Regions from separate parts of the Homo sapiens genome. Here all the other regions are linked to region 4. The links are contacts of gene promoters, found by promoter capture Hi-C in blood cells and fetal thymus (Javierre and others, 2016). All regions are on one chromosome and are shown on one strand. The core of a region is centred on a gene start or on the middle of the fragment in contact, and the rest is flanking DNA. Distances in the headings are between cores, read along the strand shown. Region 1 has its middle 13 kb from the start of CLEC2D. Region 2 holds the start of TPI1 (triosephosphate isomerase 1). Region 3 holds the start of ACRBP (acrosin binding protein). Region 4 holds the start of SLC2A3 (solute carrier family 2 member 3). Region 5 holds the start of IFFO1 (intermediate filament family orphan 1). Region 6 holds the start of TNFRSF1A (TNF receptor superfamily member 1A).

Evidence for each region. Contacts are between HindIII fragments. The CHiCAGO score rates a contact against its expected background, and 5 or more counts as called.
Region 1: a fragment that was not itself captured here is called in contact with the fragment with the promoter of SLC2A3 in region 4 in 1 of 17 cell types (activated CD4 T cells); the score reaches 6.2 in activated CD4 T cells.
Region 2: the fragment with the promoter of TPI1 here is called in contact with the fragment with the promoter of SLC2A3 in region 4 in 2 of 17 cell types (non-activated CD4 T cells and total CD4 T cells); the score reaches 8.3 in non-activated CD4 T cells.
Region 3: a contact is called between the fragment with the promoter of ACRBP here and the fragment with the promoter of SLC2A3 in region 4, in 4 of 17 cell types (neutrophils, naive CD8 T cells, monocytes and 1 more). The highest score is 8.0, in neutrophils.
Region 5: the fragment with the promoter of IFFO1 here is called in contact with the fragment with the promoter of SLC2A3 in region 4 in 1 of 17 cell types (naive CD4 T cells); the score reaches 6.2 in naive CD4 T cells.
Region 6: a contact is called between the fragment with the promoter of TNFRSF1A here and the fragment with the promoter of SLC2A3 in region 4, in 1 of 17 cell types (non-activated CD4 T cells). The highest score is 6.4, in non-activated CD4 T cells.

The regions. Positions count from the first base shown.
Region 1 is chr12:9,654,369-9,658,708 of GRCh38, forward strand. It overlaps the pseudogene LOC374443. Among named protein-coding and RNA genes, the nearest start is that of CLEC2D, 13 kb to the right of the region's middle. The HindIII fragment of the contact is 318 bases long and covers 2,028-2,345 here.
Region 2 is chr12:6,864,325-6,868,985 of GRCh38, forward strand. It overlaps TPI1 (triosephosphate isomerase 1), which reads left to right and starts at 3,207. Exons shown (of 7, transcript NM_000365.6): 1 at 3,207-3,357; 2 at 4,540-4,661. The coding sequence starts at 3,243. It overlaps USP5 (ubiquitin specific peptidase 5), which reads left to right. Exons shown (of 20, transcript NM_001098536.2): 18 at 398-551; 19 at 840-924; 20 at 1,660-2,308. The coding sequence ends at 1,753. RefSeq lists enhancers at 1,460-2,122, 2,123-2,784 and silencers at 3,054-3,103, 3,374-3,813. The HindIII fragment of the contact is 21,039 bases long and covers 1-4,661 here.
Region 3 is chr12:6,645,169-6,649,948 of GRCh38, forward strand. It overlaps ACRBP (acrosin binding protein), which reads right to left and starts at 2,264. Exons shown (of 10, transcript NM_032489.3): 1 at 2,156-2,264; 2 at 1,626-1,844; 3 at 1,315-1,409; 4 at 52-169. The coding sequence starts at 2,198. RefSeq lists enhancers at 1,685-2,198, 2,122-2,191. The HindIII fragment of the contact is 16,958 bases long and covers 107-4,780 here.
Region 4 is chr12:7,934,692-7,939,407 of GRCh38, forward strand. SLC2A3 (solute carrier family 2 member 3) reads right to left here and starts at 1,496. Exons shown (of 10, transcript NM_006931.3): 1 at 1,329-1,496. The coding sequence starts at 1,343. RefSeq lists an enhancer at 1-557, a silencer at 1,625-1,674 and a cis regulatory region at 3,523-3,870. The HindIII fragment of the contact is 4,746 bases long and covers 1-2,606 here.
Region 5 is chr12:6,554,379-6,558,722 of GRCh38, forward strand. It overlaps IFFO1 (intermediate filament family orphan 1), which reads right to left and starts at 1,664. Exons shown (of 10, transcript NM_001193457.2): 1 at 879-1,664. The coding sequence starts at 1,651. NOP2 (NOP2 nucleolar protein) reads right to left here. Exons shown (of 16, transcript NM_001258308.2): 16 at 2,493-3,264. The coding sequence ends at 2,615. RefSeq lists enhancers at 1-140, 141-641 and silencers at 1,102-1,281, 1,392-1,631, 1,682-1,841. The HindIII fragment of the contact is 7,963 bases long and covers 1-3,037 here.
Region 6 is chr12:6,339,868-6,344,199 of GRCh38, forward strand. TNFRSF1A (TNF receptor superfamily member 1A) reads right to left here and starts at 2,209. Exons shown (of 10, transcript NM_001065.4): 1 at 1,909-2,209. The coding sequence starts at 1,947. RefSeq lists an enhancer at 2,012-2,111. The HindIII fragment of the contact is 11,725 bases long and covers 1-4,332 here.

The sequences.
Region 1 (4,340 bases), core at 937-3,436, 1.7 Mb after region 4:
TTAATTGCTATATTGAGACTAGGTAGGGGAGGGTGGTCAGACTCTGGATATTTTGAAAGCTGAGCCAACAGTATTTTATGTCAAATTGGATAAAACGTCTCAGAGGAATGTCAAAGGTAAGCCTGTCTTCTTTTGAGCCTTGGCAAGAATGCATTTGCCGTCCATTGATATGAGAAAGGCTATGGGTATAGGAATTCCGCTTACGGAACTATTTCCTGACAAGTTCCTCTCAGAATTGTCATTTTTTATTAAAAATAAAGTAAGATCTCTACTTGAAATGTTTTCAGGCAAATCACCTGGCCTTAAGAGCTGGTATCTTCTACTTAAGCAGATTGAGAATGCACGAAAGTACAGAGAACTGTATACATAAAAAAATCATCTCTTGTATAGAGGTAATAGGTCCTCAGCATTGCTTTGTCAAGAGAAAGAAGGGCTAATATGAGGGAGGATATGGAAAAATCATCCGTATGACCCTGTGAAAGTACAGTACTATGGAAGTCGATGCTATAGAAATTGATTTCCTTGAAACTGTTAGTGTCAGTGTAAATTTCAGAAAGTCAAGGGTGCAGATACCCAGCTGGAAACCACCGGACTGACGATTGTTGTGCTTAGGATAAGGCACTTTGTGATGAGTTAGGAAAACAACAATCAGATATGTACACTTCAAAATTGACCTCAGGAAGGTAAGCAGAAAAATAGATAAAATGGGTGAGAAAATTTCTTTATTATGTTTCATTGTGATTGTCTCACTTTTAGCAAGAAAGGAAAAGCCAGTGGTAGAGTCATCTAAATACGCTGCTTGCCCAAAAAGCTGAATTAGATTTAGGAGTAAATGTTTTTATTTTTCTGAAGGCATAAGAAATTAGACATTGAGTCAAACGTTCTGTGTCTCATTAGAAGCCAGCCTTGCTCAGTTTGCAACTATGGAGGAACTGGTAAGAGATATTTTTGGATCATGTTTTCTGTTAAATACTTAGCCCCCTGAGGCAGGTCGGCTACATAGGGTTAAAGCTGAAATACTAAGAAGGATCCCATTCCAGGGGCATGAGATGTGTTTTCATGTCTAACATTTGTTGAGGGTGTGTTCTCTGCCTGGAACCCTGTGAGACATTTTAGATATATTTCCCCATGTAATGCTCATGGTGAGCTGGTAAGATGAGATGTATTGTTCTCATTCTATTAAGAAGTAAGGTAATTATATAATTTGTCATCTAGATTAAGACATATAGGGCATTAAAAGTGATCATTAATACATTGGTGGAATGACAAGCATAAACTGAGAATTTCCCAATGAAACTGGGATTTATGCTCACTTTAAATAAAGTAATTTAGGATCAGAGACGTTAAATGACTTAAACTGAGAACTGGGAATTAGTCTCACTCCAGAATTTATGCTGCTTAATTATACCACGCTGCCAGTGAAAAAGAGAAGGGATAGGGAAGAGAGACTCCAGAGTAATATGAAAGAAAGGGGCTCATGGTGTTAGTTTCTGTTTTATTATAGAATTTCCTGAAAAGATACAAAGGCCCTTCTGACCATTGGATTGGCCTTAGAAGAGAATCATCCCATCGCATTTGGAAATGGACAGACAACATGGAATATAATAACATGTATGTTTTGAGACTTCTCATCTTTTGCTGTGTTTATGTATGGTTATGTGTGTGAGTTGTGTTTATGAGATAAGAAATGTAGTATCATGGAAAACTTACTGCAATATGAGGTAAGAAATCTAAACCCTTTTTATGCTCTTCAGTTGGTTAGCTGTGTCTTTGGGAAAGCTTTACCTGTGATTTCAGTTGAAGTCTTTAATGTGACAGTGACATTTCTCACAATTTTACACTTTCATCCACTGATTTAAAACTGCTGAAATCCCTACTTATAGCTGATGTGCAACAAAGGTTCTACAATCATAGGAAGCCACTGAGGAGCTGATATCCACAAGGCTGTTAAGCCCACTCTTGCAGGTGTTGCATCCATTTACAATAGGAAAGCATCCAGGGAACTCATGGGAATCTCTCCCTCCTAAAGCTTTATCACCAGAAGGAAACTAGTAACAGTTCCTTGGACTGTGAACATTTCAAAGGGGTATTTTGAATATAATCATTACATTGCAGCAGATAAAATGTAGGAACCCAGTCATATCCATTAATCAAAGCTAAGCCCTTTCAGGAATTTACTAGTTTTTTTTTTTTTTTTAGTTTTCACACATTTACAAAACAATTTGGGAGGAGGCTGGAAATCATCTTGACTGAAGACCACCAATGGCAGCAGTTCATTTGGGTACAGCAGCAAGCATCAGTTAAATACCTATCAACATAGCTGGGCTTGGTATGGATGAATGATAAGCTTGTGATTTTCAAGCAAGGACCTTGAGGACATAAAGGACACTAAATACAGAAATGGTTTATATTACTATGAAGCAATATTAATGACAGACTTTTGCTTTTCTCTTATTCACATTGAAATATGGAGGGGTTGCAGAAGATGATGGGGAGGAACAAATGCAGGTGTCTAACTTACAAATATTTAATATTTTTGTGTTTGGATTTAGGCTTGCTATCAGAGGAAGTGGAGAATGTGCCTTCCTGAATGACAATGGAGTCAACAGTGGCAGAATCTACATGAACAGAAAATGGATTTGTAGCAAGCCAAACAATTATGTCTACAGTTGCCAGTTATGTCCCCACTGGGATACTACCTAGTAGAGCTGTGAGAAGAGGGCCACCATCCTCCAGACTCCAGAATGGTGGAATCAGCAGCAGCTTCCACCATGCCCCTGGAAAAACTGCAAGTAACAGACCTGCACATGTATCCCCTACATCTAAAATAAAAGTTGGAAAAAATGGAACTTTGATGTTAAGATGCACTGATACAAAACTTAAATTTTGGTCTCCTACATTAAAACAATATGAGTCTCTTAAAATATTGATTTGTTCTTAGTAAGATTACAAGAGGCTTTGATTTTTAATTCTGCAATGTTTCCTTAACAGCCATTCTGAATTACAAACTAATTCCTATTTCTGCCACATTCCTTCCTGAGAACTGTCTAGTCCTGGTTTGGGATTTATCTTAAAGGTCTAGAAAGGCAACATTTTACTTCAGCAAAACTTGATTCTATATTGTTGTTTTTTCTTAATGTGTCAAAATTGTTTTGTTACTAGGATTTCCTATGTTGTTATTAAATGTATTCCCCTGATCAAGGTCACTGGCCTAGAAAACAAAGATTCTGTGTTTTACCAAGATAATTCCCAGTGCTTCATGGTGTCTTTATTAGGCTTTGACTGCTTAGGGAAACTGAGCCTTAAAAGGGTAAAAGTTTTTCCATCCATGTAACTTTCTGAGGTCTTTAGGTTGTCACTCTGATTAAATGAGTAGTATTCTTAGCAGTGACTTATTATCTGTTGAAGGAAGTATTTTAAGCTTTTTGACATCTTTGGCAGGTTTCTCTAGAATCCAAATCCTAAATTAAGCCTTTTGGCCTAAAAATGACTGGGATTTTTCCAGGTGGACCCCCTAGATATGCTCCTCCAAAGGCTTGTCTTTCTTGTAGAGTTATTAAATGATTAGGCTTATTTGGCAAATACTGCTAGAAGCATTGTCAAATAAGAAATGGTGTTTTACCTTTCTTTAAGCTGTGTTTGTGTAAGTTCATCATTTATAGAAATGTGAAATTTTATGAGATTCCTAAGATACTGACATGCTGAGATACCTGTAATAATTGCAATTTTTATGTTGGATGATTGTATGCCACAGAAGCACTTAAATTTCCTGGTTAATTGGTAACGTTAATCAGATCTTTACCTATGGCTGTTCTGGGTTTTTGTCATTCACAGTTATTATTTTAATTTCTTCTTTGGAAGCGTTCGCAATCAGCTATAGTCCAAAATTGCTAATTAAGATCAAGCAAAACAAAATTAATTACGTAAAATTAATTTATAAGGATGTTTTTATGACGTAAATGTTTTATTTTCCAGAGCCAAGGAAATTTTCTGTCACAAGCTATCTACCGTTTGCAATAATTTGATAAATAATCCTTTGTGAACAAATATGGAAGCATTTGCTTTTTCTCTCTACTTGATTCCTTCAAAATTCAGAAACTATTTGTGGATATTTTTAGTTTTATTTATACAACTTCAGTAAAAATCCACTCTCTCTTTATAAGCAGGATCCAGTTGGAAACATTATTTATATTGCTAAGGTTTGGCTTGAAATGTCATATTTCAGAATGTGCATAGAGGCCAGGGGTGGTGGATCACACCTGTAATCCCAGCATGTTGGCAGGCTGAGGTGGGTGGATCACTTGAGGCCAGGAGTTTGAGATCAGCCTGGTCAAAATGGT
Region 2 (4,661 bases), core at 1,957-4,456, 1.1 Mb before region 4:
TGGCTGCGATGAAGGAGCTGAAGCCTGCGTTCACTGCTGGGTTTTTTGCCCCAGAACTTGTTAAAAATGTAATGCTTCTGTTTGGCCGGGCGCGGTGGCTCACGCCTGTAATCCCAGCACTTTGGGAGGGTGAGGTGGGCGGATCACGCGGTCAGCAGATCAAGACCATCCTGGCTAACACGGTGAAACCCCGTCTCTACGAAAAATACAAAAAATTAACCAAGCGTGGTGGTGGGCGTCTGTAGTCCCAGCTACTTGGGAGGCTGAGGCAGGAGAAAGGCGTGAACCCGGGAGGCGGAGCTTGCAGTGAGCCGAGATCGCGCCACTGCACTCCAGCCTGGGCGACAGAGCAAGACTCCGTCTCAAGAAAAAAAGTAATGCTTCCTTCCTCTCCAAGAACAATAGTTTAGAACGGGCTGTGGACTGGATCTTCAGTCACATTGACGACCTGGATGCTGAAGCTGCCATGGACATCTCAGAGGGCCGCTCAGCTGCCGACTCCATCTCTGAGTCTGTGCCAGTGGGACCTAAAGTCCGGGATGGTCCTGGAAGTGAGTATCCCCAGGAAGCAGGACAGGCCTGGTGGAATCTGGTCAGTCTACTACACCAGATCCCTCATTCAGGCAGCTCTGCCCTCCTCAGGAGTCAGGGGCTTCTTTCCACCTCAACGTGGCATCTGAGGGTGGGGTTCTCTGACATGGAGACAGGCTCTGGCCCAGTACCTGCCTCACATTCCCTGAAACTCCTGTCCTGAGTCTGAGCTGTTGTCTGGATCTTTGGGCCATCACTCAAGCATTCCTCTTCTGTTTCCTTCTCTGACCCCCTCTCTCCTTTCCTAGAGTATCAGCTCTTTGCCTTCATTAGTCACATGGGCACCTCTACCATGTGTGGTCACTACGTCTGCCACATCAAGAAAGAAGGCAGGTGAGTGCTGGCCACATGCGTTTTGAATGGAGAATGGTGGTGGGAATGAGGAGGGCCATTTGGAAGTCCTTGGGATAGCTATGGGAGAAGGTGAAGGGACTGCCTGATGGGGACATAAAGTGCCAGAGAGTGACAGAAGGTCTTGCAGCAGTGATTGGCCCAAGGGTTGGATCTGGCCACCAGCTTTTTTTTTAAATAGAGATGGGATCTCACTATGTTGCCCAGGCTGGTCTTGAACTCCTGAGCTCAAGTGATCCTTCTGCCTCGGCCTCCCAAAGTGCTAGGATTACAGGCATGAGCTACCGTGCCTGGCCAGGCCCCCTGCCTTTGTAAATAAATTTTCACTGGAACCTGGACACACTTGTTTATGTGTTGTTTGTGCCTGTTTTCACGCTGCGGCAGGAAAGTTGAGTCGTTGTGTCAGAGACCAGAGAGAGAGCCTGCAGAACCTCAAATACTATCTGGCCCTTGCCAGAAAAAGTTTACCAACCCCCTGCCTCCCTGGAATGGGTGGAGGGTGGTTGTAAAGGTACTGGAGGATCTGAAGACATAATAGGGTCCGTGACCCTTGTGAGGTTGTGAAGCTCCCTTAAGGCACATGGTGGCTGGGCTGTGGATTTGGGGTATGGGCAGAGAGTGTGGAGAGCACTTCCAGGGGCCATGTCTGAGAGACTACATGATGCCACTTTGAATGCCCAGTTTGTTCATCCTTTTCTGTTTTCCCCACTTCCCCAGATGGGTGATCTACAATGACCAGAAAGTGTGTGCCTCCGAGAAGCCGCCCAAGGACCTGGGCTACATCTACTTCTACCAGAGAGTGGCCAGCTAAGAGCCTGCCTCACCCCTTACCAATGAGGGCAGGGGAAGACCACCTGGCATGAGGGAGAGGGGCTGAGGGATGGACTTCAGCCCCTCTGCTCTGTACCCTTTTTCCTTTTGTCCCCGGCAGCAGGGAAGAAGCTGGAGGCCGTGGGAGAATGGCTGGGCAGAGCAGAGGGGCAGCGATAGACTCTGGGGATGGAGCAGGACGGGGACGGGAGGGGCCGGCCACCTGTCTGTAAGGAGACTTTGTTGCTTCCCCTGCCCCCGGAATCCACAGTGCTCTGCTTCTCTGTGTCGCCCCGCCCAGCCCCCTGGTGTGGAGGGAGGGGTCTCGTTTGTGCGCGTGGGTGTAGCTTTGTGCATCCTCTCCCAGTGGAGCGATCACCTGTGCCTCCCCTCCCCCTTTGTTTGCCCCTGTGTGGTTGGTCAAGGAGGGATGTGAGGGAAATAGGGACCCCCCGACTTGCCCTCCTGCCTCAGTCTTTCCCCCACCCTGTCTCTTCCTTGTCCTTCTCTGGAAAATGCCAAAATACACGATGTGAATAAAAGTACAACGGCTAAATTGTGTCCTGTTTGATACCTTGGGGGAGAGGCTTACCTTCCTGGGGTTAGCAGGAGGGCGCTTAAGAAAACTCCTAACTCTGGCCGCCTCCCTGCCAAAGTCAAGTCTCCACTTTTCACTGGTTCTAGAGCTCTAGGAAAATTGGGGTTGGGTGGGGAGGTGGAGTAGAGTGACTAAATGCCGACACAAAGCCAAGGAAAGATGGAGTGAAGAACCCTTCCCTCTCTTTATTCACACAGGAGTGGAGGATTTCCCAAATGTCCCTAACTGGCTAGCTGGCTTCAGGCTGGGACTCAGTCCCTGCAGTTCCTGCCAGGCCTTGCCAGCCGGGGCGAGGGTTGGGATGATCCTGGCGGCCTATGCCTGTGTGGGCTGCCCCTCCCGCTGTGAACCCTGCATTTGTCCCGCAAGTTTTCACTCAGGTAGACTCCCTGGGTACAAGGGTGCCTGCTCAGCAGTCGGGCATGAGCTGCTCCGATGGGCGAAGGAGGTTGTCTATCCCACAGTTGGAGAGGGGCCCTCTCTGCCCCAGTGGGCGATCTGGGCTACGGCCAAGTTGCCACCAGCTAGTTCCGCTTGAAAACCACTTCTGGCCCCGTGGGGGACTCAAGTCGCCAAGCGAGGGTTCCCCTGAGCGCCGGAGCTCACAGGTCTCGCCTTGTCCCGAAAGCCCCGCAATCGAGGCGGAGGCGACCGAGCCCCCGACTCTCCTAGAACGTTGCCACAAGAAGGGGGAACGTCGGAACAGTGCATCATCGGGCGGCGGCCGGGGCGGCGGCAGGAGGGCGGGCGGGGGGCAGGGCTCCGGGGGACTGGGCGGGCCATGGCGGAGGACGGCGAGGAGGCGGAGTTCCACTTCGCGGCGCTCTATATAAGTGGGCAGTGGCCGCGACTGCGCGCAGACACTGACCTTCAGCGCCTCGGCTCCAGCGCCATGGCGCCCTCCAGGAAGTTCTTCGTTGGGGGAAACTGGAAGATGAACGGGCGGAAGCAGAGTCTGGGGGAGCTCATCGGCACTCTGAACGCGGCCAAGGTGCCGGCCGACACCGGTAAGCCCTCGCCGAGGAGGGGTCTGGCCGGGCCGGGGCCGGGGCCGGGGCAGGAGTGGCAGCGCCCTCTCCCGAGGCCCCGAGGCCCCGAGGCCGGTATCCGCGCGGACCTGATGCAGGGCTGTGGGACGAGGGCCGCTGGGGTCCGGGCAGGGGCCTCGCAGCCGCAGCCCCGTCGGTGCGTCGAGGGGGCAGGGCGGAGCACATGATGCCCCTTGGACTATGGGGCAGGTAAGGACGTTTTGGGTCTCCTGGAGGAAGGTGGCCCCGGGGCGCGCACTGGGGCTGTGCCCGCCAGGCGACGGGGTTAGGAGCGGAGCCCGAGGCTCTGCGGGAGACCGGGGGAGGCTGGGCCGCGTGGGCTTCCCGCTCCCTGCGCCCTGGCCTCCCGCGCCGTGCGCCGCCGCACGTAGCCCCAGACTCCTCCCCTTCCTCGCCGGCGTCCGCGTCCCCGCGCCGAGCTGCTCGGGCTCCCTGAGCCCCAGATCTGACCCCTTCCCTTCGGCAACCTGAACGACTCCCGCCTTCCACGGAAGGGACCGAGCCCGTGCCAAACAGGCTGAGCGATTTGGGAGTGAGGAGCCATCCTACCGCTTTCCCCAACCTGGAAACAGCAAAGCGCAAGGCCTCTGAGTCAGTTAGGTCTCTGCCACCCACGGGCAAAGGATGCTCTCCTCCATCCTCCTTCCTCCCTCCACCGAAATCGGAGAGCCGCGGGCCTGATCCAAAGAGGCATCCCCTTCTCGTTCATTCCCCAGAGGCCTCAATACAAACCCCAGGAGTTGGCCCCTCTCCTTTTGCTACAAATCCTTGCCTTGCAAAGGGGAGGTGAGGATGGGCTATTTTAGAAGGGAAGCAGGGTTGCTCCCTGGAGAATGCTGAGTCTGTGAGGTGCCTATGCCGAGAATAGCTCGAGGAAATTGGAGCCCCAGCTGTTAAAAGAGCAGAGGGCAGGGTGAGGGCCGTGGCCTCTCAGGGGTATCTGGAAGGCTCTTCGAGTTGAGTGCAGACCCAGCCTGGGCTGGAAAATGGACAAAGGTCATCTTGCTGGGGTGAAAAGGGGGAGAGCAGAACCAAGAAGAAGAGGGTGAGGGCTGGGGGGCTCCAGGGCACTGGTTAGGAATTGTGGGGAATGAAGGCTTTCTTTAGTCTCATCCCCCTGTGGTACCATCTTGTCCTCAGAGGTGGTTTGTGCTCCCCCTACTGCCTATATCGACTTCGCCCGGCAGAAGCTAGATCCCAAGATTGCTGTGGCTGCGCAGAACTGCTACAAAGTGACTAATGGGGCTTTTACTGGGGAGATC
Region 3 (4,780 bases), core at 1,014-3,513, 1.3 Mb before region 4:
TGGGAGTTGTGGGAGTAGCTGGTGGTCTCCCGGCTGCTGAGAGGGTCTCACCTGTGAAGTGGGGTGAGATGGGGGAGGTCATCGTGGTGGGTGAGACTTCAGCTGAAGCTTCTATCTCCTTGAGAGTGTTAGGTGAGAGAATAGAGACTGGCTGGGAACACAGGACTCTCTGCAGGAAGAGAAGGAAAATGGGAAAGCCTTTCCTAAAGGGCAGACTTCTGCTCCAGCTGGTTCTTCAACCCCTTTTCCAGCATGTCTTATCTCTCAGTTTCTAGGCAGGGATAAAGGGACATGGTCCCTGCTGGAACCCTCTAGACCTGAGAAAGGGTCCCTTCAGAAGATGAATCTCTGTTTGTCTGGGCCACATCCCTGCCGTCACTTTTGCATTTGACTCAAAATCACTGACCTGTTCGAAGAAACGTAAGGGCTTATCTCTTTGCCTCTTCCCATCCCTCTTCCCTACTTCTTTTTGTTTGGGTTTTGGGTTTGTTTTTTTTGTTTTTTTTTTTTGAGACGGAGTCTCACTCTGTCACCCAGGCTGGAGTGCAGTGGCGCGATCTCGGCTCACTGCAAGCCCCACCTCCCGGGTTCACGCCATTCTCCTGCCTCAGTCTCTCGAGTAGCTGGGACTACAGGCGCCTGCCACCACGCCCAGCTAATTTTTTGTATTTTTAGTAGAGACAGAGTTTCACCGTGTTAGCCAGGATGGTCTCGATCTCCTGACCTCATGATCTGCCTGCCTCGGCCTCCCAAAGTGCTGGGATTACAGGCGTGAGCCACCGCACTCGTCCCTGTTGTTGTTTTTTTTTGAGACACAGTCTTGCTCTGCCACTCAGGATAGGGTGCAGTGGCATGATCTCGGCTTACTGCAACCTTTGCCTCCCGGGTTCAAGCAATTCTCCTGCCTCAGCCTCCCGAGTAGCTGGGATTACAGGCGCCCATCACCAAGCCCGGCTATTTTTTTTTTTTTTTTTTGTATTTTTAGTAGAAACGGGGTTTCACCATGTTGGCCAGGCTGGTCTCGAACTCCTGACTTCAGGTGATCTGCCCATCTCGGGCTCCCAAAGTGCTGAGATTACAGGCATGAGCCACCATGCCCAGTCTCTTCTCTACTTTTCTTGCAGTAACAGAATTGTTCAATCTGAATATCCAAGGTGAGACTGTATTCATATATAATCTGGGTAAATGACTGGCAAAATGGCAGGGAAGGAGGAGCTAAGGATGACTCTCCTGGAACCCTTCCTCAACTCCCCACTGCTGCCGCCTCTCCCTTGGCCCTGGGGCACCAAATCCAACCTTTGTCCTGGGCCTCACCTTGGCATAGTAGACGTGGTTGGAGCAACGGTAGTGAGTGAACTGGCAGAAAGACTCAAACCAGGAGGCATAAGGGAGGTTGGAGCAGACAGCACCTGAGAAAGGGCAGGGGTGGAGAAGATGAACCCGTGGGGAGCTTGGGGTGGGGCTGTGGGCAATGGACTCCACGCCATGGGGAGGGTGGAGAGTACGAGCTCATGGTGTGGTGCCAGCCATGCCCTTCCCCGCCTCACATGAGCACAGGGGTTTTTGCCCTGAGGTTTGGGTGAACACTCTGGGTGCCTCGGTTTCCCCCCTAGTCTGGCCCTCACCATCGGGCACTAAGCCGTGGTTTTCATATTGGTCCAGCTGGACGAGTGTGGGATTCCGGCAGCCGTGGGTTGCACGGAGACGGCAGGTAGTCTCTGCCTTCCAGGTTGGAGTCAGCAGTGCGAAGAAGCGTTCGTATTCGGTAGGAGAGAGAGGGCTGCCTGGAGTGGAGGCCTGAGTCGAATCCTGGGCTGCGGCAGGTGCCAGAGGCAGGAGCAGCACTGCGGAGCGGGCGAACGGATGATGGAAGGACCGAACCCCAAAACCCGCTCCGAGACCAGGACAGACAGACCCAGACTGGCAAATTAGGAACGGGGTGAGGGTTATCCCTGCTGACCAGGGCGGGGGGAGTCTAGAGACAGAGGCAAAGGTCCGGCCGCGGGCGGGGGGAGATGGGAGTATCCCAGGACCTAGGGAGCCGACCCAGCGCGACCACCATGAGGAAGCGATCCAGAAACCGTAAAAGCAGAGCTCTCGGGAGGGAGAGGACTAGCCCGGGGAGAGTCTGTTGGAGCAGGTGTAAACCTCTCACCCTTCAGGAGTGAGGGAAGGAAGCCAGCGGCTGGCTTCCTCATGGCCGGAGAAGATCCGCCCGCGTCCCGTGGACACAAGCCGCCTCTAACGGGCCAAGCCGCAGAGAGAGCCGCAGGCGCGGGGCGGGGCGCACGCGGGCACCGCCCACGCGTCACAAAGAGCGGGCCGGGGCGGGGCCTCGACAGCCGGGCTCTCAGGGCCCTAAAGTGGCCAGAGCCCATCCAGATGGTAGGAATGGCAAACAGCTACCTTCACTTAGCGTCTTTTTCTTTTTTTTTTGAGACGGAGTCCTACTCTGTCGCCCAGGCTGGAGTGCAGTGGTGCGATCTCGGCTCACTACAACCTCGGCGTCCCAGGTTCAAGTGATTCTCCTGCCTCAGCCTCCCGAGTAGCTGGGACTATAGGTGCACGCCACCACGCCCAGCTAATTTTTGTATTTTTAGTAGAGATGGTATTTCACCATGCTGGCCAGATGGTCTCGATCTCTTGACCTTGTGATCCGCCCACCTCGGCCTCCCAAAGTGCTGGGATTACAGGCGTGAGCCACCATGCCCGGCCTAATTTTTGTATTTTTAGTAGAGACTGGGTTTCACCATGTTGGCCAGGCTGGTCTTGAACTCCTGACTTCAAATGATCTGCCCACCTCGGCCTCCCAAAGTGCTGGGATTACAGGTGTGAGCCACCGTAGCCAGCCACTTAGCATCTTTACATGCACTACCTTACGTAATTGCCATAGGAATCCCATAAGGTAGATACACTATCATTCGTTTTACAGATGAGAAATCGGGGCTTAGGGAAGCAACTCGCCCAACAAACAGGTCGTGAGGTCTAGAGCTAAGCGCAGGCAGAGATAGAATGTGCAAAACCAAGTCAAGGCCTATCTGGGTAGGAACTAGACAGGGCGCCTCCATGAGCAAAATGGGTCCAAGGGGAAAACAAGAGGGTGGCTCAGTGGTCTACGAAAGTGGTTTCCAAGGGAGAATCGAGTAAGACAGTCCACTGAGGTATGGGAGGAGAACTTTTGCTTTTGTATCTGTTTTGTGTTTAAAATGAGAAATTCCAGCCTGGGCAACAGGGCGAAACCTCGTCTCTACAAAAAGTACAAAAAATTAGCCAAGCGTGGTGGCACGTGCCTGTAGTCCCAGTTTCTTGGGGGGCTGAGATGGGAGGATCGCTTGAGCCCATGAGGCCAAGGCTGCAGTGAGGTGCAATCGGGCCACTGCTCTCCAGCCTGGGTGACAAAGTGAGACCCTGTCCCCACCCAAAAGCAAAAGTAAAAAAGAAAAATAAAACAAGAAATTGTCTTGGGCCAGACTTGGTGGCTCACGCCTGTAATCCCAGCATTTGGGAAGTCAAGGCGGGTGGATTCCTTGAGCCCAGGAGTTCCAGACCAGCCTGGGCAACATGGCGAAACCCTGTCTCTACAAAAAATACAAAAATTGTCAGGTGTGGTGGTGTGCGCCTGTTGTCCCACTTACTACTTGGGGAGGCTGAGGTAGGAGGATCACCTGAGTCTTCAGAGGTCAAGGCTGCAGTGAGCTGAGATCTCACCACTGTGCTCCAGCCTGGGTGACAAAGTGAGACCCTGTCTCAAAAATAAAATAAAATAAAATAAATTAATAAAATAGAGACCAGGCACTGTGGCTCATTCCTGGAATTCCAGCACTTTGGGAGGCCAAGGAGGGTGGATCTCTTGAGGCCAGGAGTTTGAGACCAGCCTGGCCAAAATGGTGAAACTTGGCCGGTGCGATGGCTCATGCCTGTAATCCTAGCACTTTGGGAGACCAAGGCAGGCAGATCACGAGGTCAGGAGATCAAGACCATCCTAGCTAACACGGTGAAACCCTGTCTCTACTAAAAATACAAAAAATTAGCCAGGCGTGGTGGCATGTGCCTGTAGTCCCAGCTACTCGGGAGGCTGAGGCAGGAGAATTGCTTGAACTCGGGAGATGGAGGTTGCAGTGAGCCGAAATCACGCCACTGCACTCCAGCCTGCATGACAGAGTGAGACTCCATCTCAAAAAAAAAAAAAGGGTGAAACCCAGTCTCTACTAAAAATACAAAAATTATGGCTGGTCTCAGCACAGTGCAATCTCTGCCTCCTGGGTTCAAGTGATTCTCCTGCCTCAACCTCCCAAGTAGCTAGGATTATAGGCACATGCCACCACATCTGGCTAATTTTTGTATTTTTAGTAGAGATGGGGTTTTAACATGTTGGCCAGACTGGCCTCGAACTCCGGACCTCAGGTGATCCACCCACCTCAACCTCCCAGAGTGCTGGGATTACAGGTGTGAGCCACCGCACCCAGCCTATTTATTTTTTTGAGACGGAGTCTCACTCTATCGCCCAGGCTGGAGTGCAGTGGTACAATCTCAGCTCACTGCAACCTCTGCCTCCCAGGTTCAAGCGATTCTCCTGCCTCACCCTCTCGAGTAGCTGGGATTACAGGCACCCATGACCACGCCCAGCTAATTTTTGTATTTTTGGCCGAGACCGGGTTTCGCCATGTTGGCCAGGCTAGTCTTGAACTCCTGACCTCAGGTGATCCACCTCCCTTGGCCTCCCAAAGTGTTGGGATTACAGGCGTGAGCTACCGGGCCTGGCCTACTTTAAAAAAAATTT
Region 4 (4,716 bases), core at 246-2,745:
CACCCCACCACCCAAAATCCCTTCAACCTTTCATATCTTAAACTCCTTTCCTTTCAGGTCGGGCAGATTAGGCAGCAGGCTGGGAGCTTCAGCAGGAGAAGTGACCTTGCCTGCAGCCTCCCAGATGTCTCAGTCCCAGCTAAGCATCGGTACCCCGGAGGGCCCTGCCAGTGCAATGCTCTGTTAAATCTTTTTCCGTTTAGTAAAAATCTCTTCTGTCTCCTCTCATCATTCACTATCTTTGAGAGCCTTTTCTTCTTTAGTCTCATAATTTTCCATCCCTTTCTTATTTTCCTACATTTTCTTTCTTTCTGCTTTGTAGAGATGGGATCTCACTATATTGCCCAAGGCTAGTCTCAAACTCCAGGCCTCATGTGATCCTCCTGCCTTGGTTTCCCAAATGCTGGGGTTATAGGTGTGACCCACCACACCTGGCCCCTTATTTTTAGTTAAATTTATCTTGGTAAAAAATGCCTTTCTTGCTGCGCGCAGTGGCTCATGCCTGTAATCTCAGCACCTTGGGAGGCCGAGGCCGGCGGATCGCCTGAGGTCGGGAGTCGAGACCAGCCTGACCAACATAGAGAAACCCCGTCTCTACTAAAAATACAAAATTAGCCGGGCCCGGTGGTTCATGCCTGTAATCTCAGCTACTCAGGAGGCTGAGGCAGGAGAATCGCTTGAACCCGGGAGGCGGAGGCTGTGGTGAGCTGCGGTCGCTCCATTGCACTCCAGCCTGGGCAACAAGAGTAAAACTCAATCAGAAAAAAAAGAAAAGCCTTTCTCCCTGCAAATAATGCATATACAACACTCAATATTTTAGTATGTCCTGCACTCACGATTTTAACCCTAATAGGAAGGACAACTGGAATTCTTTCTCCTTAGCATCCACGAACCCCATATGTTATAGGACAAACAGATGGCCAGACCCTGGCCTGTGCCTCCAAACACAGACCTTTTCAAGGTCTAATGCTTCCAGAGAAGTCTTCACACTGGCTCTGAGACCCACACTTGTAATCCATACAACCAAGCAGCCCGATCCTCTAAACACTCAACCATCTCGTCCTCAGTGGCATATGGTTACCTAAAATAAACCTGAGAAGCAAACACAACTTCTCCGGGTGACTTTCCTATGATAAGGTGAACAGAACTGTATGACATTCAAAGAGAACTGATGAAGCGGCAGCAGTGCAGGCTAGAGACGAAATGAAAAGGCCTTAAGATAGCTTGGTGACTTAGGAGAAAATAGAACAAGGAGATTACCATTAATATTTGCCTTTCTGAGTGTATCCCAAACAAGCAAAAATAACCAGTAATTATATCATTCTTACCTTCTGTGTCCCCATCGCTGTAATCTAATTCAAGTCTTCAAGAAAGATCTAGGGGTGATTCCAGAAACAGCTTTTTCAGCCAACAAAACCTTCAAAATGTCCTTCTCAGCAGCAAGTTTTCTCCACGTCCTCAGGAAGGATCCAAAGTCTTACCATTACAGCATCTCTGGGTCTCGCTGGGATCATGACTATTTATAATCTCCGCAAAGGGTGGAGCCTGAAAGGGCGACAAGCCCCCAGCCCCACCCCACCCCACCCCACCCCCCTGAAGCAATCTTGTGATCTCTCGGAATTCTGTGTTATCAGAACTACCCCCGCCCCCGCCCCACAGACAATAACGCCCTCCCTCCCCCCTCTCTTAAAACCACATCCTTCCACTCTCTCCACCCTGGGTTTTTTTTTTTTTTTTTTTTTCAAAAGCTCATCCTTACTCCTTCCCTCTTCTAATAGCAGCTAGAGCCTCTTAGTTTCACAGACAAAATACTACCAGAAAAGCCTGGAGGGAGGGCAAATACACTATTTTATGCTCTCGCATCTGCTTGGGATTAAAACAATCTACAGAGAGATTAGAATAAATCTATCCATACAAAACGAAGTCAAGTGGGTGCTACTATCAGAGATTTAAGGTTGTTAGAAAGAGTGTTAGTAAGAATTCTTGATCCTATGAATTTATAGGCTGGGTCTACAATCTTTTTTTTTTCTTTTTTTTTTGAGACGGAGTACACAATCTTAAAGGGGAGGGAAAGACAGCCTGAGAGAAGAAAATCAGGGAAATAATTTTGCCAGTGTTCCTTTCTTCGCATAATCTCACCTGGAGGGAAGAAAATCTGAATTTCTAGGAGCCAGACCAACTATCAGGGCAGTAGGAATAAGAGGTTCAACTGTTTATGGAATACAATCCATATCCTTTTTTTTTTTTTTTTTTTTTTTTTGATATGGAGTCTCTCTCTGTCGCCCAGGCTGGAGTGCAGTGGTGCGATCTCGGCTCACTGCAACCTCCGCCTCCCGGGTTCAAGCAATTCTCCTGCCTCAGCCTCCCGAGTAGCTGGGACTATAGGCGCCCGCCACCACGCCCCGCTAATTTTTGTATTTTTAGTAAAGACGGGGTTTCACCATATTGGCCAGGCTGGTCTCAAACTCCTGACCTTGTGATCTGCCCGCCTTGGCCTCCCAAAGTGCTGGGATTACAAGTGTGAGCCACCGCGCCGAGCCCTATATTTAATAAGGCATTTGCCATATCACCCATTCTGAATTCTGCATCACTTTCTGCTAGTCTCAAGCTTATAGCATCTAGAAATGCAATAAATACCGAATTCAATTAAGCAGGTATTTGCCGAATACACGCTATGTATCAGGTACTCTCCAAGAAGCTGGTGATTCTTCAGTGAATAATAGAAAAAAAGGCCGGGCGCGGTGGCTCACGCCTGTAATCCCAGCACTTTGGGAGGCCGAGGTGGGCGGATCACGAGGTCAGGAGATCAAGACCATCCTGGCTAACACGGTGAAACCATTCTCTACTAAAAATACAAAAAAAAAAAAAAAAAAAAAAAAAATTAGCCGGGCATGGTGGCGGGCGCCTGCAGTCCCAGCTACTCGGGAGGCTGAGACAGGAGAATGGCGTGAACGCGGCAGGCGGAGCTTGCAGTGAGCCAAGACAGCGCCACTGCACTCCAGCCTGGGCGACAGAGCAAGAATCCGTCTCAAAAAAAAAAAAAAAAAAGAATAATAGGACAAAAGAGTTCTGACCCACAAGTCATTTATAGTGTTTCCCTTCTTCCCTTTTTATAAAGTATAAAAAGGGACTAGGGCAAGTAATTCTCACATAACTGGAAAAGATTATTAATATCCTATTAGTTATGGACTGTGAGTTTCTTGAAAGAAAAGTGTTACATAAGTATCTGATTACTAAGCTATACAAGAAAACTGAACAAGCTAAGCAGGAGAAGAAAATAGGAATGAGAACTGAGGGAGGGATAATCGGGGAGAGAGAAGAGTGGTTCCAGGTTGAGAGTAAACAAAGCAAAACAACTTGGTTTGTGTTTAAACAGCTGGGTAAGTGAGAGATAGTATCTAGGCTTTTTTGGAGGAGGAATATCAACTATCAAATTCCTAATGCCCATTCATTTGTAGCTTGCAACCCTTTCAGTACTGGAGGTGGCAGGGTGGGTGAAGGACGCTTGGTAAAGAGATAAACTTTTTCCCAGTGGTGAATTGGAGAAAGTGTATCTTCCTTTAGGGTTTTGGTTGAGGGCCTAGAATTCAAATTGATACTGCTGGACCCGAGAAAACTAGATTACTGTTGCTTCCTTTGCTTTAACGAGGATATTGTTAAAATCTGATTTGATGACAACTCCCCTCCCCCATCTCACCATTGCCTTCCAGGAAATGCTGAGCCAGAGGCCCCTTTAGTCACCACAGCAACTGAATTTAGTATCTAAAGGAAAAAGGATATCCCAAAGGGCAGTGCTGTCCAATAGAAATATAATATGAGCATGTCACATTATGGTTTCTAGTAGCCACACTAAAAATTTTAAAAGAAACAAGATAAATTTTTTTCATAATTATTTTATTTAACCCAATATATCCAAAACATTGTCATTTCAGCATGCATTCAATATAAAAATTAATAGTTTACTTTTTTGTACTAAGTCTTTGAAACATATTGTATATTTTAAATTTACAAATTAAAGGGATATGTAGCCCCACCAAAACAACAAAGTTGTGTTTATCAGGAAAATATTTTAAGTTGCATATCGAGCGTTGCATGCAGGCAAATTGCATACAGCCAAGCCTGGCCGCCTAGCCCAGTCGTACACCAGGGTGGTCTTGATCTCTTGATCTCTCTTTTTTTTTTTTTTTTTTAGACAGAGTCTTGCTCTGTTGCCCAGGCTGGAGTGCAGTGGCGCGATCTCGGCTTACTGCAAGCTCCACCTCCCGGGTTCACGCCATTCTCTTGCCTTAGCCTCCCGAGTAGCTGCGACTACAGGCGCTTGCCACCGTGCCCGGCTAATTTTTTGTATTTTTAGTAGAGACGGGGTTTCACCGTGGTCTCCATCTCCTGACCTCGTGATCATCCCGCCTTGGCATCCCAAAGTGCTGGGATTACAGGCGTGAGCCACCGCGCCCGGCGATCTCTTGATCTCGTGATCCCCCCACCTCAGCCTTCCAAAGTTCTGGGATTGGCTGGGCGCAGTGGCTCATGCCTGTAATCCCAGCACTTTGGGAGACTGAGGCGGGCAGATCACCTGAGGTCACGAGTTCGAGACCAGCCTGGCCAATGTGGTGAAACCCTGTCTCTATTAAAAATACAAAAATTAGCTGGGCGTGGAGGCGGGAGCCTGTAATCCCAGCTACTGGGGAGGCTGAGGCAGGAGAATCGTTTGAACCC
Region 5 (4,344 bases), core at 414-2,913, 1.4 Mb before region 4:
GTCCTATCGGCTTGGTTATCAGCCATCTAAGGAATCCACTTGGTATACAGCCAGCACTCCTGGCATCACATCCCTTTCCCTTGCCCCTTGGGGCCGGGCTCCTCTCAGACAGCCAAATCTTCATCCACAGAATGCACCGGGCCCGCCCCGCGGCCTCGCGGTCCTAGGGAGGGCCCATATCCCAGCTTCTCCCTGCTCAGTCCCCTGCTGGCTCTCCACTCTCCCTCCCCACTGGCGCTTTATACTGCCAAGATTCCCCTGTCAGCCCTGCTCTCCACCCTCACCCTAGTGAATTCCCTTCACTCTTTCTTTTCCCAGTTTGTTGACCTACTCAAGCAATGGCTTGAGGTCCCGGAGCTTTTCCTATGAAACCACAGCAGGTACCTGGTTTCCATCAATATTCTTTGGGAAACCTTGGGGTGTGAAAGAATCACTCGTTGCAAGGTACAGCCCCTCCCTCACCAGCCCCTTCCAGTTTCACTCAATTTAGTCTCCCAAATTTACGCTATATCCTTGCCTCCTACTTTTGAAGTTTATATCCCTAACCTGCCCCAGGGCTGAGACCGGTAGGGCAGAGCCCCAGTCCCTTTCACACCGCACAAAACCCGCAGTTAAGCCTGGATGGCAGAGACAAGCCGGAAAAGTAGGAATCCCCCCGTGTTCCGCTCCCAGCGTCCTTCTTCCTGTCACGAGCAGGGCTTCTGCATTCTCTGCGGATTCTAGTCTCCCTGCATCCAATTGCTTCCAAGCTCCTCATTACACAGCACAAACTTTACTCTCATTCTTTTCACCCCTGATTCTTCGGAACCCACACCAACTCGCGGCCCGTTGTGAGTGGTATGACACAGAGAGACCTGTCCCCCTTTCCCAATCCCTACCTCCGCTTGTACTCGTCCCGCTCCCGCTTCACTTTGGCCAGCACGTTGTAGAGAGCGCGGATCTCGGGCGTGATGGTGTCGATCTGGACGCCCACCCCATCCGGGTGCACCCACGACAAGCCAGGCCCTTGCACCAGAGTGGGCTCCAGTCCCGGCCCGAGCCGGCGGGCGTGCGAGAACGACCAGATGGTGCCGGGCATGAAGCGGGCCGACGAGGAATAGGTGGTGGAGGTGGAGGTGGAGGACGACGAGAGGCTGGCCGCGGAGGGCGCGAGGGGGCCGGCCGGGGAGCGCGCGGGCGAGCCCAGCACGCGCGCCGAAGGGCTGCAGACAGCGGCCGGCCGGGCGCCCAGCTGCAGCCCCAGGGGCCGGATGGGGCTGACGAAGCCGGTCTGCACTGCCTGGTCGCGACGACCCAGGCCCCGCCGGCCCTGCTTACCCTCCTCCAGCGCTTGCTGCAGTTGCTTCTCCAACAGCCGGTTCCGGCGCTCCAGCTCATGCACCTTGGCCAGGAAGCAGCGGAACCGGAGGTTCAGGGTCTTGAGCACGTTGATGTTGGAGCCCAGGTCATTGCGGAGGGCCATGGCGGCAGGCGGGGCCGGGCCCGGCCCGGGCGGCGAGTAGGCAGCAGGGCCGGCCGGCGAGAGAGGCGCCGGGGGCAAGTCTCCTCCCCCGGCGAAGTGGTCGCCTCCCAGTGAGTCCCCCAGTGGCCCGGCCAGGCCCTGCTGCTCCTGCTGCAGGAGGAAGAGGTTGGGGCCGAATAACGGATTCATGGCTGCGCCTTCTGCTGGGAGATGCAGACCGGTGCAGGAGCAGGGATGGAAGGCGAGCCAGAAGAGCCAATGCGGCGCCGGCGGGACAGAGCCGACCAATCAGGCGGCTCGGCAGCGGGGCAGAGGTCAGGGGGCGGGCCGAGGGGAAGCCAATGACAGGCTCCAATTGGAGGCCGGACCCTGGACCTTTCCGGGTCTGAGGCCGAGCCCTGTGATGAGGGGAGCCACCGCCTGGACTCCAGCCGGGGTGGCGTAAAGCCCAGGACCTCCAGTACCCCATGGGTTCTGGTGGCAAGCCCATCTCCCCTACACGACTTTTTTTTTTTTTGAGACCGAGTCTCACTGTCGCCCGGGCTGGAGTGCAGTGGCGCGATCTTGGCTCACTGCAACCTCAGCCTCCCAGGTTCAAGCGATTCTCCTGCTTCAGTCTCCCGAGTAGCTGGGATTACAGGCACCCGCCACCACACCCGGCTGATTTTTTGTATTTTTAGTAGAGACGAGGTTTCGCCATGTTAGCCAGGCTGGTCTCGAACACCTGACCTCAGGTGATCCACCCGCCTTGGCCTCCCAGAAAGTGCTGGGATTACAGGCATGAGCTAGTGTGCCCCGCCTTCCCCTACACTTCTATTGCCCTCCTCTCCCCGGAGTTCAATCACCCCTAGCTCTGACTCCAGGGCTTTCCCTTCCTGGGAAAACCCAAGGATGCAGGAGCCTAAAACTGACCTTATTTCTCAGTAGCACCCAACCATTCCCTCTCCTCAGAAGATCCCAGTCCCACCTCCCATCTTTACCCTTAAAGCGGCAAAGGCAGCACCCAGTTCCCTCAAAAATACTCAGTGGCCAGAGGTTTTAAAATGTGTATTAAATTTCATGGGTATGCACAGTAGAGAAGGCATCCTCACAGAGGCAAGAGTTCCAACCTGGTGACAATGGCAGTGAGCCACCCGTCTAGTTTTCAACCATCTAAGATAGCAGCAGCTGGCTGTTGCCCCTGGACTGAGATTTCTTCCTCTTTGCTGGTGGGGGGCGGCTGGAACGGATGGGAGACACAGTGGGAGGCTGAGGCCCCTTGGGGGTATCATTCTGTTTCTGGAAGGCAGCTTTCTCAAAAGGCTGCTCTGGCAACTGCTGCTTCTCAACCCCCTTGGCCCTTCCAAGGGGCTGATGATGGTCCTTAGGTTTCAGGGTGGCCTGAGTCTTGGATGGGGATAACACAGCCGGTGTTTGTGTGTCTGTGCCCTTGGGAGGGGCATTCTGCCTGAGGAAAGCAACTTTCTTGGAGGACTGTAATTTAGGTGATCGTTGCTTTAGCTTCCCAGTCACCTTTGGCTCCCTGATCCCTTCGGCTTTTCCAGCTGGCTGACTGCTATCCTGGAAGCTGGAGGAAGCTTGGGTCTTTGTGACAGAAGGTACAGTGGACAATTCTGAGTCTGCCCCTTTGGAGATGCCATTCAGCTTCTGGAAGGAGGCCTTCTTGGGATGTTGCTGTTTCTGCAGCTGCTGCTTTGTCTTTGCAGCCCCCTTGGCTTTCTTGGCTGGCTGGCTGCTGTTCTCAGACTTGGGGATGACCTGAGGCAAGTCTACATTTGTAGGTGTGGCTGTTTCAGAATTTCCTGGGGTTAAAATTAAACAGATGGTGTCAGAAAATGGGCCTTATCACCATATTTTAATATTCTCATATTAAAATATGAGAATTGCCATTTCCTGGGCAGGAGCTCCACACAATTAGGTCAGTGCCTAAGAGCAGATTACCTAAATTCCCATTACTTAATATAACTTGGCCTTTACTCAAGTCCTAGTTGAACCTTGTATTAAAAGATCACTGCCTATAGGCCAGGCGTGGTGGCTCACACCTGTAATTCCAGCACTTTGGGAGGCCAAGGCAAGTGGATTGCTTGAGGCCAGGAGTTCAAGACCAGCCTAGCCCACATGGTGAAACCATCTCTACTAAAAATACAAAAATTAGCCAGGGATGGTGGTACACACCTGTAATCCTAGCTACTTGGGAGTCTGAGGCACAAGAATCGCTTGAACCTGGAAGGTGGAGGTTGCAATGAGCTGAGATTGCACCACTGCAGTCCAGCCTGAGCGACAAAGCAAGACACCGTCTCAAAAAAAAAAAAAAAAAAAAAAAAATCACTGCCTATCCTTGGGCCAAAAGGTTTCTACAGGAAGCTGCGCCCTCTTGAGGACAGGAAGTAACAAGATGCTGTAAGGAAGAGGTGATTCTCAGGGTTTTGGGGTTTTTTTTTTCTTTTTTTGAGATGGAATCTCACTCTGTCACCCAGGCTGGAGTGCAGTGGTGTGATCTCGGCTCACTGCAACCTCTGCCTCCTGGGTTCAAGCAATTCTCCTGCCTCAGCCTCCGGACAATCACAACCGTGCGCCACCATGTCCGGCTAATTTTTGTATTTTTAGTAGAGATGAGGTTTCACCATGTTGACCAGCTGGTCTTGAACTCCTGACCTCAGGTGATCCACCTGCCTCAGCCACCCAAAGTGCTGGGGTTACAGGCGCGAGCCACCACGCCCGGCCTCGCAGGGTCTTCTAAATGAATTTGAAGCACTAGGCTTTATTTATCTTTTTTTTTTTTTTTTTGAGGTAGAGTCTCACTGTGTTGCCCAGGCTGGAGTACAGTGGTGCCATCATAGCTCACTGCAACCTCAAACTCCTGGGGCTCAAGGGATCCTCCT
Region 6 (4,332 bases), core at 959-3,458, 1.6 Mb before region 4:
CACACACACTGTGAGCTCTGCATTGCCCACTGAATGGTGAGAAATTCAGAAGGATGTTGCATTCCCTTTGTTTTCCCTTTCCTCCAGCTCCAGGCCAGGCTTCTGTCCCTTAGGAGACATAATCCCACCTGGGCTGAAGCACCCCAGGACGCAGGCACTTCCCTTTACCTGTTCAGGCTACCTTTACCCTCTGTTTTCCCAACACAGGTAGCCACCCAGTAATTACTACTAGTCACAGCAATATAAAAACTTTATTGAGTGCTTTCTATTTGCTACAACCTATTCCCCTGATGGACTGTCAAAGCTGTGGGCAGGGATTTTGTTCTCTGCTGTAATCCCAGCACCTATCACAGTGTCTAGCCCAGAGCGCACACTTAATAAATCAAATGAACACTTAACATGTATCAGTCTATTCAATCTTCAAAACAACAGTATGAGGTCAAGACTGTGACACCCATTTTGGAGATAAAGAAACGAAGGCATGGAAGGTTAGGTTATATAAGCTGCTCTTGTTCATGCAGGAGGTATGTGAGGGAGCCAGGGGCCGCCCCCAAACAGAAAACAGAAGCAGGATGTCAGGGCAGCTGGCTGGTGGGGAGACCGTGGGGGAAGGACAGTGGGAAGAAGGGAAGAGCGGGTGGGACTAAGGAGGCAGGAGGAGGCAGAAGAAGAAGAGTGAGACCCTGACCAGAGACGTGCTGCCTGGGGACCTGGGGCCGGGACCAGAGCGGAGCAGAGAGGAGGGGAAGGAGGATTAGCGAGAAAAGATTTCAAAAAAAGAGGCTCTGAGAAGTCTGAGGAGAGTCTGGGGAGATTGCTGGAAGAAAGGAATGGTAGGAGAGGAAGAGTATAAGGCACTAAAGAGAGGGGAGGTAGGCGCAGCCTTCAGAGGCCGGGCAGGGCAGGGAAAATCTGCCTGACTAGATGGGCCCAGGACATCTGAACAGGATGATTCCCGGACCAAGACGTGGAGGACGATCAAGGATACATTGAAACAAGGCTGAGGCCAGAGAAAGGGACATTTTCCAGTGACGAAAACAACTTTCTACCAACTTCCCCAAACTGAACTGTAGAATAAGAAACCAAGGGATTGTTGTTTAGGTCTGTGAGAAGCAGCGGGGAGGGGAAGCTGGAGGACAGGCCCAGGGACACTGACCAGGTGGGGGTAGGACTAGCTCCCTGGGAAGGCTCAGTCCCACAGCGGCTACCTGCCTAGCAGCAGGCAAAAGGGTAAAGAATGTCCCCAGGTGAGAGGCCGGGGCTTGGCCAGGGCACTGGGGACACTGTCCACTGGGTTGCCCTGCCCCATCCAGTGTCCCAGCCCATTCTCAAATACCTCCCACCATGAGCATCCCAAACCCACCACACCAGCCCATCCCCACTCCTCAACTCACTCCCCCACTTCACCAGCCGCCAAAATCCTGCCCTACAGGGTGTGCTCCACCAAGTTCCACAGGCAGCCTCGCCTCCCCACGGCCCAACACCCTCCAGGCCAGCCAGCTGACCGGAGGGACAGAATTCAGAACCGTCTGGACTCCCCGAGCACTAATCTTCCTACTCCCACTCCCTTCTTTTCCCCGCCAAATCTGCCCCACCCTGGGCCTATCTCCTGCCCACATTCCCTTGGCCGCCCACAAACTTCCACCGCTGTCAGGGGCCAGGGCTTCCTTTTACTCTCTCCCTTTCAAACTTCTCCCATTCCCCTGCCTCAGCGCAGCCCCTACTCCAAAAGGCGGATGAATGGGGAACCCCACACTGGCAGTGGCTGAGGTTAGGACCTGCAGGCCTGAGGCTGGCGCCAGGACCAGGCCCGGGCAGGAGAGGCTCGGCCCCCTCCCGGAGAGGGCCCACGCCAGCCGGAAGGTGCCTCGCCCACCAGCCCACTCTTCCCTTTGTCCCTGGTCTCACCAGTGGCAGCAGCAGGTCAGGCACGGTGGAGAGGCCCATGCCAGACAGCTATGGCCTCTCACTCCCCCATTTGGGCTCAGGGCAGTGTGGCAGCGGCAGTGCTGGGGCTTCCCGGGACTCGGTCTGTCCAGGACGTCCCAAGTGCCTTGGGGTGACAGTTGAGGGTTGAGACTCGGGCATAGAGATCACGGCCTGGTCCCAGTGATCTTGAACCCCAAAGGCCAGAACTGGAGCCTCAGTCCAGAGAATTCTGAGAAAATTAAAGCAGAGAGGAGGGGAGAGAAGGTGGGAGGGGAAGAGTGAGGCAGTGTTGCAACAGCGGGACAGGAAGAGCTGGAGGAGGAGGCCACAGGAGGCGGGAGGAGGAGGCCCAACGTTCTTTAACTCTTTGTAGTCCAGTCACAAGCACAGGAGTCCCAGATCTGGCTGCCTTGTGCCCCCAACCCACCAATCCGACCACTCCCAACCAAACACCAAGGGGCAATAAGCCCCTTGCCCACATCACTAGCCTTTCCCAGATGGATCACAGCAGTGAAAAGATCCAGAGTCTGGGAGTCAAATTCTCTGGGTTCCAATTCAGAATGCTTAGCTTTTTAGCTAAGAATGTGTCTTGGACACATAAATGAACTTCTCAGACACATAACTGAAACTGTCTGGATCTGTTTTCCAATTTGCAGAGTGGAGATAACCTGTCTCCTGGGGTTCCTGTAAGGATTTGTTCAGATGGGAGAGATATAGATAAGCGTCCGACACATGATAGGTACTCCATGTCCCTTAGTAATCCTCCCCTTTACTCCAGAGTTCTTCACTAGCCTCCTAGTCTCCCTCTTTCTTGGGAATTTACTGATCCAATCCAAAACTCAAAGTAAGTCCCAACCCTCGTTTTCTGCCCTGACTGGGTGCCTGCCATTCCTCACCCCAGGTCTCATCCAGTCTCTGCCTGGCCAGGTCCCCCCACCCTGCCCCACTGTTGATCCTGGCTCTGCCACCAATCATGCGACATCAGGCAACTCCTCTCCTAAGCCTCTGTTGGTTCCTTGTTTATTAAACAGGGGTAACAATGTCTGCCCACCTACATGGGGAAAGTGATGCCATGAGAATCAATGAGACGTATCCACGAAGCTGCCGTGGAAATAAAGATACCTCCATCAGGTGTTCCTAGCATATTCCCAGTGCCCTTTTCCTAAATATTCCAATACATCAATTATAACTCACCTTACAGATCATCGACTACAACCCCCTAGGTTTTTTTATTTCTTCGTTTGCTTGTTTTTCATTTTTGTTTTTGTTTTGAGGGTCCGCTCCGTTTCCCAGGCTGGAGTGCAGTGGTACCATCGCAGCTCACTGCAGCCTCGACCTCCCAGGTTCAAGTAATCCTCCCACCTCAGCCTCCCAAGCAGCTGGGACTATAGGTGCATACCACCACGCCTGGGTAATTTTTGTATTTTTTGTAGAGACAGGGTCTCACCATGTTACACAGGCAGGTCTTGAACTCCTGGGCCCAAATGATCTGCCCACCTCAGCCTCCTAAAGTGCTAGGATTACAGGTGTGAGCCACCGTGCCCACCCAACTGCCCGGTTTTATAGAGGAGAAAACTGAGGTCCAGAAACCCAATGTGCCAGGAGGCAGAGCCAACAGAGAACCCCAGACTCCCGACTGCCGGTCCAAGGGCCCCTTTGGCTATGAGAGACACACTGCCACTTTTTCTGTCACTGAGTCAGACCCCACATCCTGACTCTGGTTACTTTATGCCATCCTCATTGATGCAGACATCTCCCAAGAGAATCCTACAACAAAGGTACCACATTTACCCAACTATCTTCTTGGTACAATGACCTTCCCTACATCCAGCCCCGCCCAAGGGCCTGCAGCTGCTGAGGCTGCTAGAAATGCAGGCAGACAGAGAAGAGGGAGGTCCTAGGGCTTTGGAACTTGAAACCAGAGCTCCTCACCCCTTATCCCTCTGAGATGACCTCCCAGCCCCAAGTCCACCGTCCCCTGGCTCTTCCTGGCTTCCCCTCTGTGATCCGCAGATGAGAATGGAGCTTCAGTGTCCCTCACTGCGGGGGGAGCTGACTTTACTCCACCCCATCGTCCAGCTTCTGGAGAACTGTAGGGTTGAAGCTGGATTCAGAAAGGAAGCAGCTCACCACCATCACAAAGGGAGACCCCAGGGACAGGAGAAGCGAACCCAAAGCAGTGTTCTTGAAGAAGCAGGAGCCTCAGAATCAAGTGCAAGTTTCCAGTATGAAGCAGCGAGAAGAACCTCGGTCTGCTCATCTAAAAAATGGGAAACCTGCTGGTACCCTTCACAGAGCTAGCTTGATGCTTAAATCAAGCATATAAAGTGTTTGGCAAGTGTTTGCCATATATTAAGCATTTAGTAAGTGGTAGCAATTAATTTTTTTTTTGAAACAGGAGCT